Linked DNA regions of Homo sapiens: all the other regions are linked to region 1. Evidence: promoter capture Hi-C in human tissues and cell types (Jung and others, 2019). All regions are on one chromosome and are shown on one strand. The core of a region is centred on a gene start or on the middle of the fragment in contact, and the rest is flanking DNA. Distances in the headings are between cores, read along the strand shown.

The links. The method cuts DNA at HindIII sites, captures the fragments that hold promoters and counts their contacts. A contact is called where the count stands out against the background at its distance.
Region 2: a contact is called between a fragment that was not itself captured here and the fragment with the promoter of PSMF1 in region 1, in 1 of the 25 tissues and cell types used here (dorsolateral prefrontal cortex).
Region 3: the fragment with the promoter of SRXN1 here is called in contact with the fragment with the promoter of PSMF1 in region 1 in 1 of the 25 tissues and cell types used here (lymphoblastoid cells).

Annotation. Positions count from the first base shown.
Region 1 is chr20:1,114,787-1,119,874 of GRCh38, forward strand. It overlaps PSMF1 (proteasome inhibitor subunit 1), which reads left to right and starts at 3,816. Exons shown (of 7, transcript NM_006814.5): 1 at 3,816-4,116. The coding sequence starts at 3,988. LOC105372493 (a long non-coding RNA gene) reads right to left here and starts at 3,662. Exons shown (of 2, transcript NR_136535.1): 1 at 3,598-3,662; 2 at 3,066-3,202. RefSeq lists enhancers at 3,567-4,209, 3,609-3,658, 3,669-3,718, 3,729-3,918, 3,959-4,088. The HindIII fragment of the contact is 13,046 bases long and covers 1-5,088 here.
Region 2 is chr20:1,481,688-1,486,404 of GRCh38, forward strand. All of the region lies in intron 1 of SIRPB2 (signal regulatory protein beta 2), which reads right to left. Among named protein-coding and RNA genes, the nearest start is that of SIRPB2, 7.4 kb to the right of the region's middle. The HindIII fragment of the contact is 3,209 bases long and covers 252-3,460 here.
Region 3 is chr20:651,243-656,331 of GRCh38, forward strand. It overlaps SRXN1 (sulfiredoxin 1), which reads right to left and starts at 1,958. Exons shown (of 2, transcript NM_080725.3): 1 at 1,734-1,958. The coding sequence starts at 1,943. It overlaps LOC107985423 (a long non-coding RNA gene), which reads left to right and starts at 1,711. Exons shown (of 2, transcript XR_001754452.2): 1 at 1,711-2,232; 2 at 2,547-5,089. RefSeq lists a silencer at 1,836-2,395. The HindIII fragment of the contact is 30,072 bases long and covers 1-5,089 here.

The DNA.
Region 1 (5,088 bases), core at 2,566-5,065:
CTGTATGCAAAGCAGTGTTGAACCAAGGGGTGGGGGTGACGGAGCTGTCTGCCCTGTAAGATGCCAGCTACAACCAACTGTATGCAAACCAGTGTTGAACCAAGGGGTGGGGGTGACGGAGCTGTCTGCCCTGTAAGATGCCAGCTACAACCAACTGTATGCAAACCAGTGTTGAACCAAGGGGTGGGGGTGACGGAGCTGTCTGCCCTGTAAGATGCCAGCTACAACCAACTGTATGCAAACCAGTGTTGAACCAAGGGGTGGGGGTGATGGAGCTGTCTGCCCTGTAAGATGCCAGCTACAACCAACTGTATGCAAACCAGTGTTGAACCAAGGGGTGGGGGTGACGGAGCTGTCTGCCCTGTAAGATGCCAGCTACAACCAACTGTATGCAAAGCAGTGTTGAACCACGGGGTGGGGGTGACGGAGCTGTCTGCCCTGTAAGATGCCAGCTACAACCAACTGTATGCAAACCAGTGTTGAACCAAGGGGTGGGGGTGACGGAGCTGTCTGCCCTGTAAGATGCCAGCTACAACCAACTGTATGCAAACCAGTGTTGAACCAAGGGGTGGGGGTGACGGAGCTGTCTGCCCTGGTGCAGACAAGGAGTAGGTACATTTGCTGTAGAAAACGTAAAGGCAGTAACAAAACAGACCAAAGGCCAGTCCACTTTTTACTGTCATCATGTACCAGCAATTTGAATCAACTTCATTGATAAAATTCTCCACCTGACTAAGGCTGATAGCTCTCACTGTCCCATGCCCACCCCTTGAAAGCCCACTGATGCCAAGCACACTGAGGAAAGTGCAATTAATCATGGGCAAAGAGACGAGGGAAACCTCACTCAGGAGGCAACATTGACCTTGTAATCCCACAGAGCTAGCTGCATTCCACCATGCCTTTGCACATACTGTTTCCTTTTACTGGAACACCTTTTGATCCTTAATCCACTTTTTTTTTTTTTTTGAGACAGTCTCTCTTTATCACCCAGGCTAGAGTGCAGTGGCTTGATCTCGGCTCACTGCAACCTCTACCTCCCGGGTTCAAGCGATTCTCCTGCCTCAGCCTCCCGAATAGCTGGGATTACAGGTGCCTGCCACCACGCCCGGCTAATTTTTGTATTTTTAGTAGAGACAGGGTTTCACCATGTTGGCCAGGCTGGTCTTGAACTCCTGACCTCGTGATCCACCTGCCTCAGCCTCCCAAAGTGCTGGGATTACAGGTGTGAGCCACCATGCCTGGCCAGTACTTTTTTTTTTTTTTAAACACTAGACAGTGAGCTCTATAGGGACAGGAACCTGTTCATCTGTGTCTGGCCCACAGTAGGCACTTAGGAATGGGCTGCCACTAAGTAGGCACCTTAAGTGGACACCCTGCACTATGGTTCATGGCAGCCCAGCCTATGAAAGTTTATTGATGGAATGAATCTGTAGAAATTTTCCATAATTGGATAAGGGCATTACAAACAGAAGGGACAGAGCAAGCAAAAGCAGGGAAGACTGAAAGTGCAGAACTTCTCAGTAGAAAGGGCAAATAGCTTTATGCCACAGGCAGTACATCTCAGAGAGGAGTTCCACAGCCACTAGCTTTAGTGTCATCCAGAATGTAGTCAACATACATGCACTCTTCCTCAGACCTTCTCATCCAGAATCTCTGCAGAAGGGGTTCAAGAATCTGGTTGTCTCAAGGAAACTTTAGGAACACAAAATTTGGAGAGGCACAGGGCCAGCTGACAAAGGGAGTGATGGACTATAAAGAGGTAAGAGTGCCCTGACTGGGTTGGGGCTAGGCCAAGAATTCATTCCTTCATTCAGTATTCATTCTGTCTTTCAATAAGTATAGATTGATCCCAGAAGGCACTCAGGTACATATGTGCACAAGGTAGACATGCTCCCTGTTCCTTTGTCACAGTCTAGTGGAAAGACAGTCATTAAATAAGCAAAGAAATAAACACCTAACATAGTTTCAGGTTATGATTAATGCTTTGCAGGAAAAAAAAAAAGCCAGAGAGGGATTAAAGACGGGAGAAGGTTATTTTGGATGGAATGGTCTGGGAAGCCCTCTGTTGAGGATGGTAGGAGTGAGGGATGAAGCCACTTGAAATGAAGAAGCAAGACATGCAGATATCTGGGAAAAGAGCATTCCAGGAAGAGGAACGCAAAGGCCCAAACAGAACACATGAAACAGGGAAACTGGCTGGGAAGCTACTGCAATAGTCTAAGTGTGAGATGCTGGAGGATCAGACCAGAGTGGAAGCAGTGAAGGTGATGGGAAGTGGTCAGATTCATAATATATTTTGAGAGTGGAGTCAACTAGCTTTGCTGTTGGACCAGATGTAGATGTGAGAGAAGAGGGGGAGCCAAGGTTATTGCACGTATAAAGGGGATGAGAGGACAGTTGAAGGAGACTGAATCAGAGAGGTACAGGGCTGGCAGGGCTGGGGCAGGAGATGGCAGACCACATGCAGATTCCTGCAGACCATGGGGAGGACTTTACTTTTCCATTGAGTGTGACGATTTTGAGCCAACGGATGTGATCTGACTTTTCTTTTTTTTTTTTTTTCTTTTTTGAGACAGAAGATCGCTCTGTTGCCCAGGCTGAAGTGCAATGGTGCGATCTTGGCTCACTGCAACCTCCACCTCCACCTCCCGGGTTCGATTGATTCTCATGCCTCAGCCTCCCGAGTACCTGGGACTAAAGGCGTGCGCCACCACACCCAGCTAATTTTTGTATTTTTAGTAGAGACAGGGTTTCACCATGTTGGCCAGGCTGGTCTCAAACTCCTGACCTCAAGTGATCCGCCTGCCTCGGCCTCACAAAGTGCTGGGATTACAGGCATGAGCCGCCACACCTGGCCGATCTGACTTGTTTTCTAACAGAATCTCTCTGGTTGCGGAGTGCAGTACAGACTAGAGAGAGACAGGAATGGAATGGGGCAGTTCTGAGGCTGATGCCAGGCATCCAAGTGAAAGATGACAGGAGCTTGAACCAGGTTAGTGACTGGGATGGGGAAACTAAATTTATTTGGGTAAAAACAATAAGTGGATTTCATGAAACTTGTTGAAGTAACGGGTGGTAAAAATCATAAAGGGGGTAGGCAAATAAATGATTGAAATTTGATAGTGGGTCAGGAGCTTCAGCTCTGCGGGCAGCAGTTGTGTCTCCTTGGAGAAGTGGTTTCAACTCTGAGCCGTTTTGTCATCTGCAAAATGGGGATAATAACGGTCCATACTTCATAGAGTTGTTGAGAGGGTGATGTAAAGGTTTTAGCGCACGATGTAGCACACAATAAACACTTAATAAATGTTATCTTAGAAGCCAGACTGCCAGGTTCCCATAACCATTTCAGCCGTTCACCGGCTGGCTGTTGTCATCTTGGTCAAATTATCCCTCTGCGCCTCAGTTTCCTCATCTGTGCAATGAGGCACATTAATCGTTAATATCAACTGCATAGAGTTGGGTTGTGAAGATTAAATAAATGAATACAAGTAAAGCGTTTAGAATAATGTGGACGGTAGCAAGCACGGCGAACGTGTTAACGATTATTAAGAATGTATTTTAGCCACATTTCCCAGCCCCTTCCCCGGCCTAGCATACCCCATTTTGTGGATGGGAAGTCTGCCTCTCAGCAAGGTGGCCTCTTGGAGGACGCTGTGCCCGCGTCAGGCGATCCTGTCGACTGCCGCCAAGACCCGGCTTCCGGCTTTGAGGGGCCACGCCCCGCTCGCACTCCCTGGCGGAACCTTTCAGTGCTGCGCTCGCGTTGCCAACCCGGCGCGCCTCACGCAGTTGCGCCCGCTGTTGGGACTACTTCCGGCTTCCCCGCCCCGCCCCGTCCCCGGGCGTCTCCATTTTGGTCTCAGGTGTGGACTCGGCAAGAACCAGCGCAAGAGGGAAGCAGAGTTATAGCTACCCCGGCCGCGGAGCCGGCTCACTGCACTACCCCCGCCCCCTTCTTTCCTCCAGACGCCGAAGTCGCGGGCGCTCATGGCGGGCCTGGAGGTACTGTTCGCATCGGCAGCGCCGGCCATCACCTGCAGGCAGGACGCGCTCGTCTGCTTCTTGCATTGGGAAGTGGTGACACACGGTTACTTCGGCTTGGGTGTCGGTGACCAGGTACGCCACGGAGCCGGCCAGGGTGGAGGAGGGAACTGTCTTCTGCCCAAACTCAGAGTACCGGAGGCCTGGTCCAGAGCGCCCGATTTCCCCGCTTCTCCCAGTGCAGGGTCTGGGGCAGATGGCAGCGTTGGTAAAACCTGCGGGTCGGAGGTTGCTCACCTGCCCCATCCCAGCCCAGAGTCCCTCACGGCACAGCTGGCACAACATGATTTGTAAACTCAAGGGCGGACACTCGCTTCAACACAGCCTGGCAGCCTCTCAGGCCAGGACTGTGTGGATCTAGCATTCCATAGAATGGCAAAGAATCTAGACAGGAGTTTAGCTCCCCAGAGCACTTCTCACCCACCTGATCCCGTCTGAACTCCTTACCACCCAGCCTCGGGGTGAGGGGACTGACTCAGTTCCGCCCTCATACCACAGTAGAGCCTCCACCAAACATCTGGATCCAAGCACAGGTACAGGAGTGAGCTTTGACCTACTCAGCCCCAGGCCAGGGCCCTTTTTTCACCCGTTAGCATGGGCCCAGAGAGTTCACACGCCTTTCACCCTTTACTGAAGGGCCCAGCATAGTCCACTCGCTACTGCCATCCCCAACTCAAGCTCTAGGAAGCAATCACCCCCAGAGTCGTACACACATACACCCTGGGTGTGAGGGTCATATAAGATTTTCTCCTCATAGTTGTCCCCATAGGGCCAGCCCCTCTTCTCCCATCCCCAGGCTCCACCTCTTACAGCTAGGGACGTCGTTGTCATCCCCACAGAGTTCTAGGACTGCTGGACCCAACCCACCTCACTAATTCTTTGCTCTGGCATTCTTCTTTCTTTCCTGTCTCTTCCCTGTGACCCTCATCCCCAACATCCACATCATCCTAGACATCTGCTTCCTGGGAGAAGTGGGCCTGCCTCCATGCCTGCCCCTCACTGTCACTGTTCTCTCACTCTCAGAACCAAGACTAGCCATGGGAAACA
Region 2 (4,717 bases), core at 606-3,105, 360 kb after region 1:
TAACCACCAAGAATAACTTTCTCACAATTGTGACCAAGTGATAACCGCATGTTGAATCCTAGGGATTGCTTCTGTCCTTGATGTCCTTAGTTCCAAGAAATTCAGCGACATCCACTCTCAAACATTATTTGAGCTAGTCAGATCTGTTATCACTGATCCTTCCTGTTTTTTTCCCTGGCCTCAGGGAGTTTCCTCACACACACGTACAGGACTGTGCCCATCACTCAGCACAGGGCTAAGAATGGTGCCTGTTCCCACCAGCCAAACTGGTAAAACCCATGATTGTCAGGGCACTGGGGAAAGTCCACAGAAGAGAGATGCAGCCCAGAAAGAAGTGTTCTGGTCCACCCAACAAATCTTAAAAGCAAGGCCCCAAACTGATTTTAAAAAAAAATAACATTCTATTGTGAGGCTTCTAACACATGTATATGTAGAAGTTATGACATCGATAGAATAAAGACTGGGAGTGGAGAAATGTGAGTTTACTACTGTAAGTTTCTTTTTTTTCTGGTATCCATCACCTGAGTATTTATTATTTCTATGTGTTGGGTACATTGCAGGTCCTCTTTCCTAGCTGTTCTGAAAAACAATACATTGTTGTGAATTATAGTCACCCTACTCTGCTATCAAACATTAAAATTTGTTCCTTTTATCTAACTGTGTGTTTGTACCCATTCACCAACCTCACTCTTAACCCCTCTCCCTGAGACCCATCACCTTTCCTAGTCTTTGGTATCTATCATTATAGTTTCTACTTCCGTGAGATCATTTTTAGCACCTGCATAGTTGTCTTTCTGTGTCTGGCTCACTCCTTCCTTCCTTCCCTCCTTCCTTCCTTTCTTTCTTCCTTTCTTCCTTCCTTCCTTCCTTCCTCTCTCTCTTTCTCCTTCCCTCCCTCCCTCCCTCCCTTCCTTCTTTCCTTCTTTTTGGAGTGCAATGGCACTATCTCGGCTCACTGCAACCTCCGCCTCCCAGGTTCAAGCAGTTCTCCCACCTCAGCCTCCTGAGTACAGCTTACTTCACTTAACATAATAATCTCCAGTTCCATCCGTGTTGCTGTGAATGACTACATGATTTCATTATTTTTTTTTCACGGTTGAATAGTATTCCATTGTGGGTGTGCTTGGGGACACTATATATATGTATTTTTTTTATCAATTCATCCATTGATTGACGCTTAGATTGATTCCATACATTTGCAATTGTGAATATTGCTGCAATAAACGTAGAAATGCATGCACTCCTTTGATATATTGATTTCTTTTCCTGTAGATAAATACCTGTTCTAGGATTGCTGGATCATATGGCAGTTCTATTTTTAGATTTTTGAGAAATCTCCATACTGTTTTCCATAGTGGCTGTACTAATTTACATTCCCACCAATAGTGTATAAGAGTTCCCTTTTCTCCTCATCCTCATCATTTTTTTTTTTTTTTTGAGAGGGAGTCTTGCTCTGTCACCCAGGCTCGAGTGCAGTGGCACCATCTCAGCTCACTGCAACCTCCGCCTCCTGGGGTCAAGTGATTCTCCTGCCTCAGGCTCCTGAGTAGCTGGGATTACAGGCACATGACACTACACTTGGCTAATGTTTGTATTTTTAGTAGGGACAGAATTTCACCATGTTGGTCAGGCTGGTCTCGAACCCCTGACCTCAGGTGATCTGCCCACCTCAGCCTCCCATAGTGCTGGGATTACAGGCACGAGCCACAGCACCTGGCCTTTTTTTGGGTCTTTTTAACAATAGCCATTCTAACTGGGATAAGACGATATCTCATTATGGTTTTGATTTGCATTTCCCTGATGAGTGATGTTGAGCATATTTTTTCATATACCTCTAGGCCATTTGTATGTCTTCTTTGGGAAATGTTTATTCATTCCTTTCCTTTGCTCATTTTTAATTAGATTATTTATTTGTTTGTTTGCTTTTTTAACTGTTGAATTGTTTGAGTTCCTTGTATATTCCAGATATTAGTCCCTTGTCAAATGGGTACTTTGTGAATATTATCTCTCATTCAGGAGGTTGTCTCTTCACTCTTTTGATTATTTTTCTGCAGTGCAGAAGCTTTTTAGTTTAATATAGTCCCATTTGTCTTTTTTTTGCCTTTGTTGCCTGTCTTTCGAAGTCTTAGCCACAAAACCTTTGCCTAGAGCAATGTCTTGGAGTGTTTTCTGATTTCTTTGTATTGTTTTTCAGAATTATCTTGTATCTTACTGATCTTCCTTAGTATCGATATTTTGTGTTCTTTTTCTGGGATTTTGTAAATTTCTTCTTGATTGGGATGTGTATTGGTATAATAGACCAAGGGCATAGAATACATAGACCAATGGTATAATAGACCAATGGCACAGAATAGAAAACACAGAAATAAATCCATGTATTTACAGCCAATTGATTTTTGGCAAAGGTATCAAGAATACACATTCAATAAATGGTGCTGGAAAAACTGGATATCCATATGCAGAAGAATAAAGGTAGACTGCTATTTCTCACCATATACCAAAATCAACTAAAGATGAATTAAAGATCTAACTGTAGGACCTAAAACTATAAAAACTACTAGGAGAAAACAGGGAAGGGACTCCAGGACACTGGTATAGGTAAAGATTTTATGACTAAGACCTCAAAAGGGTCAGGCAACTAAGACAAAAATAGACAAATGGGACTATATTAAACTAAAAAGCTTCTTCATAACAAAAGCAACTATCAACACAGTGAAGAGACAAACTCTTGAATGAGAGAAAATATTTGCAAAGTACTCACCTGACAGGGGACTAATCTAATATCCAAAATATACAGGAAACTCAAACAACTCAACAGTTAAAAAAAATCTCATTAAAAAGTGGGCAAAGGACATGAATCAACATCTCTCAAAAGAAGACATACAAATGGCCAACAGGCACATGAAAAAATGCTCAACATTACTAATCATCGGGGAAATGCAAATCAAAACCACAATGAGATATCATCTTACCCCAGTTGGAACGACTGTTAAAAAGGCAACAATAAAAAAAAAAAACAAAATAAATAAACAAACCACCACAAATATATGCTGGTAAGGTTGCAAAGAAAAGGAAACTTTATACATGGTTGGTGGGAATGTAAATTAGTACAGCCACTATGAAAAACAGTATGGAGACTTCTCAACAAACTAAAAATAGAAATGCCATATCACCCAGCAATACCACTACTGGATGGCCAGTATGGAATACTATTTGGCTATAAAAACAAATGAAATTCTGTCATTCGTAGCAACATGAATGAAGATGGAGTTCATTATGTTAAGTGAAATAAGCCAGGCACAGAAAGACAAACATCACATGTTTTCACTCATACGTGGAAGCTAAAAAAATTGATCTCATGAAAGCAGAGGGTAGAATGATACCAGACGTGGGGAAAAGTGAGTGTAGGGAGAGGGGCATGAGAGAGATTTGTTAATGGGTACAAACATACAGTTAGATAGAAGGAATAAGATCCTGCCATTTGATATCAGAGTATGGTAACTGTAGTTAACAACAATGTATTGTAGATTTCAAAATAGCTTGAAGAGAGGACTTAAAATGTTCCTAACACAGATAAATGAAAAATACATGAGGTGATGGATATCCTAAATACTTTGACTCATTTATTACACATCCTATGCATGGAACAAAGTATTACATGAACCCCATAAATATGTACAAATGTTATGTATCGATTAAAAAAGAAAAATTGGAAAATATTTTGAACTGAAGGAAAATGAAAACATAATATAAAAATTTGCGGGATTCTGTTAAAGCAAGGGGAAGTTTGTAGTATTAAATGCCTATATTTGGAAAGAAGAAAGGACTCAAATAAATTACCCACTTTCCACCTTAAGAAACTAGAAAAAAAGGCCAATAAACTAAACTCAAAGTAGTGAAAGAAAGGAAATCATCAAGCTGGAAATGAAACTTAATACAGTAGAACACACACACACACACACACACCACACACACACACACACACAGAAAAAATCAATGAGAAGAAGAAAATCTTTGAGAAGATCACTAAAACTGATAAATCTCTAGTCAGATTGAACAGAGGGGACACACACAGAAAGAACCTAAATTATTAAAATAAGGAATAAGATTGGTGATACTACTACAGATTTTACTCTTATTAATAGAATAATAAAAGAATATTATGGAAAACTTCAAGTCATACATATTTGACAAATTAGGTAACATGAACAAATTCCTTGAAAAAGATACACTGCCAAAGCTTTCTCAAGAAGAAAAAGACAACCTGGTTAGCCCTATTATCTATTAAAAAGTTCAATCTGTTATTAAAAATCTTCCCAGAAATAAAGGTCCAATCCAAGAAAGTTTCATTTGTGAATTTTCCATATCTTTTTCTTTTCTTTTCTTTTCTTTTTTTTTTTTTTGAGACAGGGCCTCACTCTGTCACCCAGGCTGGAATATGGTGGCGTGATCTCAGCTCACTCCAACCTCTGCCTCCCAGGTTCAAGCGATTCTCCTGCCTCAGCCTCCTGAGTAGCTGAGATTACAGGCATGCACCACCATGCCCGGCTAATTTTTATATTTTTGGTAGAGGCAGGGTTTCGCCATGTTAGCCAGGCTGGTCTTGAACTCCTGGCCTCAAGTGATTCGCCTGCCTCAGCCTCCAAAACTGCTGGGATTGCAGGCATGAGTCACCATGCCCAGCCAAATTTTCCATATCTTTAAGAAAGAGATAATA
Region 3 (5,089 bases), core at 708-3,207, 470 kb before region 1:
GGACTTCTGACCATAAATAAACCTGTGTTGTTTTAAGCCATCAACTTTGTGGTAACTTACAGTGGCCCCAGAAAACTAATACAGGTGTATGTAAGCAAAGGCAGAGCTGGTTCTGGCCCTCAGAGCCTACGGTTCTAGCACGGAAGGCAGGTGTCTAGACAGGACGTTAAAAGCCAGTGGGCTGTAATCCCAGCACTTTGGGAGGCCGAGGTGGGCAGATCGCTTGAGGTCTGGAGTTTCAGACCAGCCTGGCCAACAGGGTGAAACCCCATCTCTACTAAAAATACAAAAATTAGCCAGGCGTGGTGGTGGGCGCCTGTAATCCCAGCTACTTGGGAGGCTGAGGCAGGAGAATGGCTTGAACCCGGGAGGCGGAGGTTGCAGTGAGCCAAGATCGTGCCACTGCACTCCAGCCAGGGTGACAGACCCAGACAACGTCTTAAAAAAAAAAAAAAAAAGCCAGTGAGATCAGAGCTATGCAGGTGGGCACACAGGTGGCTGCAGGCCCACAGAAGCTCCTAACCCGGTAGGGATGGTCAGGGAAGATCCTGACACTGAGACAGGAAGACCGAGAAAGAGTGAGAAACGACAAGGCAGAGATAGAAGAGGTTCTCAACGGGAGAAAAAGCCCAGTGGTGGGACAGGGCATGCATGGCAGATCCCTTCCCATCTCAGCCAGGCGCCGTGCTACTATTGTGGCAACAGATAAGATGGGACGAGGTCCTCGCCCTTGTGGAGTGCACGTGAGGTCAGGAAGACAGAAAATAAAATGCAACACAAATAGATGTATAATATAATTTCTGGTGGACATAAGTGGTATCCTGAAAAACATCTCGGGCTAAGGGGAGAGCTAGAGAGGCCAGTGACTCTGACCAAGGGTGATCAAGGAGGCAGAGAGCTGAACCAGGCAGGGGAGCAGGCCCTGTGGTTGTCTGGGGAAGTGGCTCCAGGCAGTGAGGACACTAGTGTAAATACTAGGACTGAAAGTTATCGGGGGTGGCTGTAGAGGTGCTGGGTGGGGCTTAGGGATCTCATGTGCTCACCTTCCAAGGGTCGGGGGAAGGGGACACAACGTTATGTAGGCCTAACCTGACACCTGTTCTTGCGGGGCCCCCAAGTTCCTGCCAGAATCACTCCGGTATTCTTAACACCCTTCCTCAGTGGTGGAGCTGACCCTTGACCTCTCCCACTTCCCATTCAGACAAGGGCCTCCCAGCAGATATGACACACCTAGTCCCACTGTCACTGACTGTCACAGCCATGAGAGCCCACGGCTTATCTCCGGGTAGTGCGGTGGCCATGTGCTGGGCAGTGGGGCCCAGGCTGCCTGGGTGTGAATTCCAGCCGTGTCACTTTTTAAGCGCCTGATCTTAGTCAAGCCGCTGAAATCTTCCCTGCCTCAGTTCTCGTCTGCAAAAGAGCCACTATCTACCTCCTAGGGTTGGCATAGGAAACTGAGGGACTTCCTGCAGTTCCTGGACCACTGCAAGCACTAGCGTTATAAGCGTTATCATCACTACTTTAATTATCTCGCCCAATTCCCTCCTTGCTCAAGTGAGGAAACAGAGGCCCAGAGAGGCCCAGCTACTTGCTCAAGGTCACACAGCAGAGGCTGAGCTCCGGCTGGGCCCGGAACCAGTCCGTCTCGCGTCCATCGCAGCGACCTCCCTCCTCCGGCAACCTCCCTCCTCCGAAGCCCTCCCTCCGGTTGGCTGGACTCCCCGAGGCCTCACCCGGATCGTGTCCACGAGGCTCTGCACCTTGGCGGGGTCCAACACGGACGGCAGCGGCCGGATGAGCACGCTCAGCGGCACGTTGTGCACCGCGGCGATGCGGCCCGAGTGGATGCTGCCGCCCTGCGCGCCGCCGCTCGGCCCGGGCCCCTCGGGCGCCCCCCGACCCGCGCCGGCCCTGCCCAGCGTTCCTCCTGCACGCAGCCCCATCGTCGCCGCCGCCGCGGGACTCGCCGCCTCCCCCCGGCCTTAACTCCGGCCGGGCCATACCATTCCGCGCGGCCGGGGGGGGGGGCCCGTGCCAGGGCAGCGCGCGTTTCTCCCCCGACCCCGCCGCGGTCCGGCCTCGACCCCGCGGTCCCCAGCCCGACTCCGGCTCCGCTCGCCAGGTGCCGCCAGACTCGCGCGGGGCTCAGGCTCTCCACCGGGGGGCGCCTCTCGCCTCCCCTGCGCCGCGCGGCGTCCGGGGAGTGGAAACGCCCGGGCGGGCTGACTCAGGGTGAGTTTGCAGGTCGCGGGGCGGGAGGGGCGCGGGTGACGCACCGGCCGGGCCGACTTAGGCCGCGGGGGCGGGGGCGGGGGAGAGCGCGGCGGACCTGCCCAGCCAGGGTGAGTCGGCAAAGCCCGCGGTGCGCTGCTGCCCCGCTGCTGGGGTTCCTAGCCAGCGAGGTTATGATCCCCACCAGCGGTTCCACTTCCAGTCTGGCGCCGGCTGTGTCTGGAGTCGTTCCGAACATTTTGCACGTGTATTAACGTATCTGAACCTCAAAACAACCCTGCAAGGAAGGTATGACTGTTATTCCCATTTTACAGAAGAGGAGACTGAGACACAGGTTTAAGTGATGTACCCAAGATCACGGAACTAGTAAGTGGCCGAATCCGCGTTCAAATCCAGACGGTCTGGCTCCAGAGTCCGCCTTCTACCCCACCGTTGGCTGCCTTGGTTCAGCAACAGTGACTGTCACACGGAGCCCTCAGGAGTCGCGCTGACAATGGGTGGGCCCTGCCTTCAAGTTCCACACTGTCTGTTTGTGTCATTACAACACTACTGGAAGTAGGTGCAGTTATAGACCCGCTGTTCAAGGTCAGCTGAAATGAAAGTCAGGTCACACGAGTCCAAACTGTGGGGCCACTTAACCACCAACTCCAAGCAGGAAGGTGGACGATCCCAGACTCGGTCGAAGACAAGCATGTCTGGTTTGCTTGTCTTCCTTCTCAACCTGAATGGCACGAACATGGAGAAATGCATACTTACCCTGCCAGCTGGAGAAAACTGGAGACGAAGGAGGGAGCCAGGAGTTTCTACTTTGCCTTCCACCAGTTGCTGACACTTTCTGAACCCCGTCTGTAAAATGAAGTCATGCTGCCCATCACTCAAAGTTGTGTGAATTGAGAGAGTGCTCATAGTGCTCTGTGAATTGCATAACATCCATTTTGCTGTTGAAGATCATTTATTTTGGGTTCTTAGTCTCTCACAAAACCTTAGAACACTGACACCAAGACTCCAGCCTTTCCCTTTCGAAACATAATTCCCGTGCGCACCTAAATGATACTTTATTTCAAGAAGTAGAACTGACACCCACACCTCAGCCCCAGAATTATTCAGAATTAGAGAATTTCATCAAGAGGGAAGTTATCCCTTCTAAAACATCTTCCTCATTACAGGAAGTAAGAATGGCAGGATAACAGTTTCTAGAGTGGAAAAGTGGAGCTCTGGCCTGATTCTATCATCATGGTGTACCCAGGGAGGCCTCATTTCCTGGTATCAAATTCTCTGTGTTAAGATATCTATGGCCCAATTCAAAATGGCTTAAGCAATAAGAAGGTTTGTTTTCTCACATAATAAAATGTTTGGAGGTAGGTATGTCCAAGGTTGGTAAAGAGGCAGTTGAACAATGTGACCAAAGACTCCAGTTCTGGCTGGGCCCGGTGGCTCACACCTGTAATCCCAGCACTTTGGAAGGCTGAGGCAGGCGAATCACTTGAGGCCAGGAGTTCGAGACCAGCCTAGCCAACATAGTGAAACCCTGTCTCTACCAAAAGTACAAAAATTAGGCAGGCATGGTGGCGCGCGCCTGTAGTCCCAGTTACTCCAGAGGCTGAGACAGGAGAATTGCTTGAAACCGAGAGGCAGAGGTTGCAGTGAGCTGAGATCATGCCGTTGCACTACAGCCTGGGTGAGAGAGTGAGACTCTCTCAGAAAAAAAAGACCCTGGTTCTGTCTATCCTTTTGTGCCATCATCCTTGGTGTTCTGTTATCCTGCGGTGTGCCCCTCATGGTCCCAAGATGGCTACTGTAGCTCAAAACATCACATCATTACATGCGAATGTCCACAAGTGGAAGTTAGGACATCCCTTCGAGCCTCTTTTTAAGAGTGAAGAAACCTTCCCTGGCTGGATGCAGTGGCTCACACCTTCTGACCTTCCACTCCTCAAGCCCCGGAGTCAACTCTAGTCACACTGGCCTCCTTGCTGTGCCTCTTCCACAGCGAATGTGTCCTGGCCTCAGACCCTTTACATTTGCTGTTCCCTGTGCATGGAACGCTCTTCCCTCAGGTCATACATAGCATACATTACTGAGTGCTCTCCATGTGCCCAGCATGGTTTGATGCGCTTTACATATATTAACTCATGGAACCTAACAGCTTTATGAGACGAGTCTGTTATCTCCATCCCCATTTGATAGATGGGGCATCCCTGTGGGAGCTCTGCCCATTCCAGAGGTGCCAGGCCATTCACTAATGGGGGCAGGAGCCGGTGAGTAAATGCCAGTCTTGTGCTGTCACAGGTGGACGATTCAGAGAGGTGTTCTAGACCATTCAGATCTTTCTGGAACCTTCTCAGAGACCAGAAGTACTCAGCCCTATTGCTACAACTGACTTCACTAACACACCCTCTGTCCCATTCCTCCCACCCCTTACTTCTGCTTCCAGGGATCACCTCCCACATAAACGACTTACACTCAAGTCTCAGACTTGCTATCAGGGAACCAAAACTAAAACAAAAGGGAAACTTGATACTGGGTCATCCCCTATAGTTCTGTACCTTGCCTGGGTTAAAATTGCACTATTTTATTAGATGTGTGACCTTGGGCCAGTCACCTGTCTGTGCCTGTTTCCTAATCTGTAAAACGGACATAATGTCACCTAATTCACAGGGGTGTTGGAAGAGTGAAGAGAGATGGTGTTAGGTGAGGTCCTTAAAACAGTGCACAACGCATTATAAGTGCTCAATAAATGTTTGCTGTTTGATTGCATTTTAAATTGTAACAGAGCTTGAACGTCTCTCCGTGTCTTCACTTTCAGACTAGGCTTGATGTATTAGTCAAGACTTTTGTTTGCAAGTGACAGAAAGCC